Regions from separate parts of the Homo sapiens genome. Here region 1 is linked to region 2. The links are contacts of gene promoters, found by promoter capture Hi-C in blood cells and fetal thymus (Javierre and others, 2016). All regions are on one chromosome and are shown on one strand. Each heading gives the region's core, a stretch centred on a gene start or on the middle of the fragment in contact. The rest is flanking DNA. Distances are from core to core; before and after follow the strand shown. Region 1 has its middle 73 kb from the start of NCOR2. Region 2 holds the start of NCOR2 (nuclear receptor corepressor 2).

Region 1 (4,085 bases), core at 1,143-3,642, 73 kb after region 2:
GAGAGGTCCGCGATAAGATGGAGGGGTGGGTGGGGCCTTGAAAGTCATGGTAATGCATGCAGATTTCTTCTAGAAGCAACGAGAGCCTCTGGAAATTGAAGGCAAGGCTGCGCATTGTCTGATGGATGATGGCAAGTGTTGCTTTGACTGTCCTCTGGGGATCTGACTGCAGGAGGCAAGGGCAGCACCAACTCCTAGGGGCGTCCTGGAGGTCGCTGTCATCACGCTGGGCCTGTGATGAGTGCTCAGCCCATGATGGTCAGGGTGGATATTGCTGTGATATCATTGTTGCCAACAGGCCCTTTCCATATGCCAGCAGAGGCTCATACCGAATCTAATCCCCCAAAGCTCAGAATCCGGGAAAAGTAAGATACTTTAATTCCTCCAAGTAAGGGGGCCCAGGTCCGAGACCCAAAGAAGACTCTGGGACCTCAGGGGAGGAGGGGGTCAGCTGGGACCGCCCTCCTCTAACACCCCTTCCCACACCTTGGAATGCACCTCAGGCCCAGAAGGACTAACTGAGTTGACATCCCCAATTCACCCCAGGCCTTCTCTCAACGTCCTAGAAAAGCTACCCATCTGTCTGCCAAAATCTCTGCATCTCCCCAGCCAGGCAACTCCCAACCCATTTACCAACTGGAAAGGATCCTTGGCCCCCAGCTACTGTTCCCTGCTCAGAACTCTCAGTGAATCTTGGCTGCAACTGCCACCTACTTGATGTCTGTGAGTGAATATTCCATGTCTCCCCCATTGAGTTTCCCCAGGTCAGAGACTGCTGAAACTTGCAGGGAACTCTGAGATGGCCAAGCTCAGGGTTGGCGAATACATAGCACTTTCCCTGCCTACACCTAGGCAGACATCAGAAATCAATCCCAGCTCTCTCTCCCATTGAGCTTGAGCATTGCCTGAGAATCCTCAGCCTAGACCTTAGTGCAATCTAGGAATTGGCACAGGATTAAAGCTCCTGGCTGTGCCCAGTCTAGCACAAAGCCCTCATTTCGTAAGTGGGGAAACTGACGCCCAGTAACAGGAAGGGACTAAAATTCAGGCCCCTTGACTTCCAGCCAACAGTCTCTTTCCTCGAGGGCAAAGGGACATCTATCATTTATGTTCTCCCTGTGGGATATGGTGAAGAGATAGTGTACAACAGAGATTTGTTCAACGAATAACAAGAATGAAACAAACAAAAAACAAGGAAAGAAAGAAGAGAGTTTTAGATGCAATAGGTAAAAACTGGCTCGGGTGTGAGAAAGAAACCCATGACATCGTGTTGCTAGACGTTTAGAAAAGTTGCTAAGGGAAATTTTTAGAGTGTCTTTCCTTGCAGAACTTTAAAAATAGTCCTGAAAAAAAAAAAGTAGTCCTGATTAAGTGCCCATCTGCCTGGGAGCCTCCTGCGGAATGCTGGGTGTGTTATTCACTCATAGTTGACAAGTGTTTGTTGAACATCAACTATATGCTGAGCATAAATCAGTCATTGAATTAAAAAGCAAAAATAACAGCTAGAATCTGTATCTCTCTGAGTTAGAGATCTTTGGCTGCAAGCAACAGAAACCAAGTCCAAAACTCAAGCACGAAGGGGGTTTGGGGAAGGAAAGAGGATGACTCACAAAAATGACAGAACAGCTCAACTCGGCTCGCCTGGGCACTGCCTGTGGCATGAATCGTCTCCCTGCTATTTCTTCATATTTTCCCAGATTCAAAATCTGGGTAAGAGAGGCTGCTGGCCTCACTTGGGTCAACTCTTGATCAGGAGAAGGTGGAGCTCCTTGATTGGCAGCTCTTTGTTTTAGCCCAGGTTACCTGGAGCACAGAGGCTGAGGCAGGGTTTCCTGGCTAATGCTATTCTGATGGGGTGCAAGCTTAGGACGGCAAGAGTGAGAGCAAAGGGACAAACAAGGTGACGGGCCTCTGAGATGGTCATGGCATCACATCAACCACAGCTGGACAGTGGGTCACATGAGACTGTGCTAGCTTCCATCCACCTCCTACGTCTCATGGGTCAGAGCTCTGGGAAAGCCAGAGCCAACACTCCACAGCACAGAGCTTCATCTGCTCCAGAAGGGAGAGGGAAACAGCACCTCCATGGGCTGGGTCAAACCAAGCCTGGGAACTAAATGACTGCACGGCTCCTTCTTGGTGGGTGTATTAGTTATCCACTGCCACGTAACAAAATATCCTAAAACCAACCATAAATATATGTGATCTCACACAGTTTCTGTGGGTCAGAGATTGGAGAGCAGCTTAGCTGGGTGGCTCTGCTCTAGGGTCTCTCACGAGGGTACAATCAGGGTATCAGCTGGGGCTGCAGTCATCTCAAGGCTTTATTGAGGCAGAGACACCCATTTCCAAGATGGCGCACACACGTGGCTGCTGGTGGGTGTGTTCATCAGCTCGGGCTGCTGTCACAAAAGACCACAGGCTGTGTGGCTTCAACAATAGACATTTATTTTCTCACAGTTCTGGAGGCTGAAAACTCCAAGATCAAGGGTTAGCAGGTTTGGTTTTCCCTTCTGGGGCCACGAATGTGTTCTGGAGCTAGCTCTCGATGATCTGGAAGTCCCCAAGCACATGGTGGAGGCACTTAATGTCACTGAGCTGTACACTTTCAGATGGTTACGATGGAGAATTTTATATCATGTATATTTTCACACACACACACACACACACACACACACACACACACACACACAATCTGCGTCAGGGGTTTGGGGATCATGTCTCAGCTCTGCCACTAAATGAGTTTGTCTTTGAGAAAGTGACTTTCTCTCCCTGGCCTTGGTTTCTCTCCTCCCACTCTCCAATCTTCTGATGGGCCTCCCATTGGCCAAACCCAACCAGGAGCCAGAGGACAACGGGATCAGGGTCAGTCCCTGGGGGTCACAGATCTGGCGGACAAGATTGGAGAGTGGCTTGGACAAGCAAGCTTACGGGGGAACCACCATGTTACCCTAGAAATAACAGGCCAAGAAGAGAAGCGACATCTTCTGGTGTTTGATTTGCTTGCCTCTGGCTAAGTGCCTGTCTCCTTAGCCCCTAGCTCCCTCCTTGCCCAGAGAGAGGCTTCCTGCAAAGTGCTGACCCAGCGCCACCCCGCCAGATGCCAACAGGAATTTCTTAAGCATATGTGCCACACCAGCTCCATTCTCAGCACCACACCCACTGCCAGCGCCTGCAGTCCTTGTCTTGGCTTCTGGCTGTGCAGGGGAGGGTCCCAGCACTGCCTGTTCCCCCCAGGGAGGCTCCAGCCCATCTCGGTTAAACCTCATCTTACCAACCTTTGGGTCTTAAGGCTCTTCACTTGGGATCCAGCACAAGTCAGTCAGTAATTCATTCAACAAACCTTCACGGTGCAAAGTGCCCAAGATGTAGGGGTGTTGGGCAGAAGGGAGGTTCCAGCCTTTGAGGAGCTCCCAGTTCTGCAAGCAGGACAGAGAAGCAAATGCCCCATCCCAGGCAGAGTAACAATATTTAAAAATAAATAATTAGCATTGGATGCTCACGGTGGCTCACAATTGTAATCTCAGCACTTTGGGAGGCCAAGGCAGGAGAGCGTGGGGCCAGAAGTTTGAGACCAGCCTGGGTAACATAGCAAAACCCTGTCTCTACTAAAACAAACAAACACACAAGCTCAGCTGGGCATGGTGGTGCATGCCTGTGGTCCCAGCTACTCGGGGGCCTGAGGTAGGAGGCTCACTTGAGCCCAGGAGGGCAAGGCTGCAGTGAGCCGAGATCGTGCCGCTGCACTCCAGGCCGGGCGGCAGAGCAAGACCCTATCTCTAACAATAAAAATAAAAAATAATAGTTCAAGTTGAGGCTCCCTGAGTGCCTGTTGTACACCAGGCTCCTTACCTGTGTCAGCCCCCTTCATTCTGGACGGTACAGTTGTCACACCCACTGCTGTGGTCTGAATGTTCGGGGTGCAGCAAAAATGCACATGTTGGAGCCTAGCACCCAACATGATATTAATATTAGTAGTATCAAGAGGGGCCTTTGGGGGAATGATTAAATCATCAGTGCTCTGCCCTCACAAATGGGATCAGGGCTCTTACAAAAGAGGTTGAAGGGCCAGGCATGGTGGCAGG
Region 2 (3,569 bases), core at 288-2,787:
CCCAGAACTCCCCCACCCCGCCCACAGGGTCCTCCCCTTATCCCCTCCTCCCCTCTTCCCTCCCTCACACATCCTTCCTCCAAATCTGCAAAAAGGGAAAAATAATAATAATCACAATAAAACCAGTTCTCACCAACGGGGGAGAGGAGGAGGGGGAGGAAGGGAGGAGGCTGAGCCGACAGAACAGATCCGCCCCCGCTGCCTGCACCAGACCCTCGGAGAGCCGGAGCGCGCGACAGGCGGCGGGAGGACACTCGCTTCCAAAAAAATAAACCTACAATGTAAAAATAACGCCGGGCGCCCCACGCTAATTGGGCCCGGGCGACAGCAGCTCCCAGGTACAGCCTGTCTCTCCCTCCCGCCCGCCGTGCCCTCCCGCCCTCGGCTTGCTCCTCCTGCAAGTGTCTGGGGCGGGGAGGGCGTACCCCACGGGTGCCCTCACTCCCCGCAGGCCTCTGAGGAAGCTGCCCTCTAGACAAGGGTCTGGGTCTTCCCAGTCGTGCCCAAGTGGGATCAGCTCTGAATTCCAACTTCGCAAAGTAGTGGCATCCCAAGTATCCGCACAGCCCGGGGGAGGGACTAGGAGGCGGCCCAATGAGGCGTCACCAGCCACGGGAGGCAGGCCCAGACACCAGGAACACCGGCCCGCGGGGGAGGGGGACCAGGGGCGACTCTCCCGAGGGACCCCGCCCAGCGCCCCGTGGCCCCACGCCTAGGAGGGACAAGGCTGGCTCTCCCCCTCGGCTGGTGAGAGACCCTCATGCGCCCCTCCACAACAGCCAGGCCAGGGAGCTAGGGGTACCATCTCCAAGGGCTTTCAAACCCGCGCTGCCCGATGGAAAATAAGGCGCAGTGTCGCCCCGCCAGGTCCGGGGCTACACCGGGTACAAGGGACGCCTGGCGGCCAAGTCCCCAGAGCCGGCGCACACTGTGGGGGGCCGCTCTGTGCATTTCCAGCGCGCCCCCCGCCCACCCCAACGCCACTTCCCTCCTTCCCGCCCCCTCGCTAGGGAGCTGGAGTTCCCCTAAGTTCCCCGGCGCCCCCGAGCACGCGGGCCGCAGTGTCGGCGGGGCGCCTTGCTCCCCAGCAGGCCACCCCCCGAGAGCGCCAACTCGGGAGTGCAGGGGCCCCGCCAACTCCGCCGCGTGCGCCGCCCGATCCTCCCCGGATCCCCCGGAAGCGCGCTCCGCGCCTCCCCCCGCCCTTCGCGGGGACCCTCGGCCCCAACTCACCTCGCGGAGGTGGCAGCGGTGGCGCCCGGGCTTGGGGCGCGCTCGGGCCGCCGGGGCGCTCAGGCAAGTGGCGGTGCCGATCGGGCTGGGGGCGCGCAGCAGGCCCGGCCTCGGGTCGGGACGCGATCCTCCCGCCGCCGCCTCCTAGGGCGCCGGCCCTGGGTCCCCGGCCCGCAAGTTGGCGCGCATCGCGGAGCGCAGGGCGCGGGCGCAGGGCTCGGGCGGGGCGCCGGCGGACGCGGGGCTCCGGTGCGGCCCGGCCTGCCCGCGGCTCCGCGCTCCCCGGCGGCCGCGGCGGCGGTGGCGGCGGCGGCGGCGGCGGCGGCGGCGGGAGGGGGAGGAGGGGGCGGGGCGCGAGCCCGGGAGGCGGTGGCTCGGCCTCCCTGCTCCCGGCTCCCCGCCCGCAGCGACGCGCCCCGGCCCGGCCCCCTCTGGCTCCTTAAAGGGCCCGCGCCTTCTCTCCAGGCCCTGCGCGTCCCCACTCGCGCGCGCACGCCGCCACACACACAGACACGCACGCACACACTTGGGCGCGACGCCGAGTTTCTTTTTGGCAGCTCCCCGAGGAGGAAGGAGGGGGGAAGCGCCTCCCAGCCTTCCCCTCCCTCTTCTCCTGCGGGCCCGGGGGCCCTCCTCCTCCTCTCCAGCCCCAGTACCTCACTGGAATCGCGTTTCAGCTATTAAATTATAACTCTGGAGTGGCCGCTGGATGGGGAGGGGGCGCGCAGGGAGGGCCCTACACAGGGCCTTTTAGGAGCACGCCCAGTGGGGCACTTGGGGACGGGAGCAGACAGTAGCGCAGAGCCCTCTCCAGGCAGGAACACGCTGGGCCTCCCCAGACCCGAGACCCAGCCCGGGCGAACACACTGCAGACTCACCACCCACCACGGACCGGAGATGTCAGATCTCACACAGACAAATACTGGGACACCCACGCGAGTTCACAGCACCCCGGAGGACACAGACGCTAGAATGCCAGTTTCCTGAGGGCAGAGATTTCTATTTTGTTCACTGCCCTATCGCAGTAGGGACTCACGAATGTGTTGAGTGAAGTCCCACTTGGGGACATTCAGGGACACAAATGCGGAGACAATGCAACGAGCCTGTGTCCCCCCCGCCCCCCCCACACACACACACAGACACACACATCCCAAAGCGTGACCCTGGGAGCCACACACGCCCGGCCTGCACAAGCACGCAGTCACAGACGGCACACATGTGCTCGCTCCCCCACGCACAGGCAGACACTCTCCGCTCCAGCAGGAACCTGGCCCCCCTGGCCGCCCTGACAACCCAGTGTCCTCATTTACCCCCTCCTCCCACCCCCTCCAGGTTTGCCCTCTCCAACCAGGGCAGATCTCTTTGAACAGCAGAGGGCACTGGGAGCCCTGGGCCTGGAGCCTCCCTCCCTCCCTCCTCTTCTGCTTTCTCCTAAGATGTTGGAGAGTTTGAATTTTTTTTTTTTTTTTCAGTTCAACTTTCCTTTTTTGGAGTGACGTCTCAGCAGATTCAGTTCTGCCATCTGGCAACATCTGAGAACCCCCAGGGAGAGCGGGGAATGGCTGCGGTGGGGAGGCAGCCGCGTGGTTTCCAGAGGCCGGCGGGCCTCCCGCCTCCGCCAGGATGCTGGGTTTGCCGGGCTCCCCTGCAGCCAGGTCCTTCTCTGCCCCCTCGGGCTTTTAATTATGAGCTTTTGGGGGGCTGGCGGGAGCCTCTGGGGCTGACAATGTCTGGCAAAAGGGAAGTGGGTGTGGAGGGGAGCAGTTTGCAGACTGAAACAGGAGGGGTCATAGGTCAGTGCCCCCCCCCCACCTCCTTGTTTTGGCCCGACCAGCTCCAGTTCTGCCCAGCCAGTCGGTCCGAATCCACAGGCAAAAAGCTGGAGCCGCAGAAGGAAGGCCTGATCCCCCACCTCCCCCACCAAGGGTCTTGGAGAGGGAAGCGGGGGCGGGGGAGCTCCTCTGCCAGCCCCAGGCCGCCTGGCAGCCCTCCTCTGTCACCTGAAAACCCTCTGGGAATTTGCATTTCCATGAGATTCAGCTCTATTTGAAGCTGGAGGAGGGACATTTGGGGTGTCTTCAGGGGTCTCCCAGCTTCTGCCCTCGAGGGCTCCCTGCAGGCTTAGGAGCGGGGAAAGCAGGGGGTCTGTCAGCTTTGTAATGTCCCAAGCGTCACCTAGAAATCCCTCACTGGAAGCCTTATCAACTCAAGCGCCAATGGCCTCTGGCCCGACCATGTCACAGATGGCAAGACTGAGGCCAGGAGAAGGGCAGCGTTTATCCCGAAAGGGATTGGCCCTTTCCCGTCTGCTCCTGTTTCCTGGCTGAATTGGGTTA

The links. Contacts are between HindIII fragments. The CHiCAGO score rates a contact against its expected background, and 5 or more counts as called.
Region 1: a contact is called between a fragment that was not itself captured here and the fragment with the promoter of NCOR2 in region 2, in 5 of 17 cell types (monocytes, M0 macrophages, M1 macrophages and 2 more). The highest score is 16.2, in monocytes.

The regions. Positions count from the first base shown.
Region 1 is chr12:124,638,687-124,642,771 of GRCh38, forward strand. No RefSeq gene overlaps it. Among named protein-coding and RNA genes, the nearest start is that of NCOR2, 73 kb to the left of the region's middle. The HindIII fragment of the contact is 1,064 bases long and covers 1,861-2,924 here.
Region 2 is chr12:124,566,075-124,569,643 of GRCh38, forward strand. It overlaps NCOR2 (nuclear receptor corepressor 2), which reads right to left and starts at 1,538. Exons shown (of 49, transcript NM_006312.6): 1 at 1,234-1,538. RefSeq lists silencers at 284-383, 584-803, 944-1,053, 1,074-1,433, 1,544-1,793 and enhancers at 1,914-1,963, 2,130-2,990, 2,991-3,569. The HindIII fragment of the contact is 7,570 bases long and covers 1-3,569 here.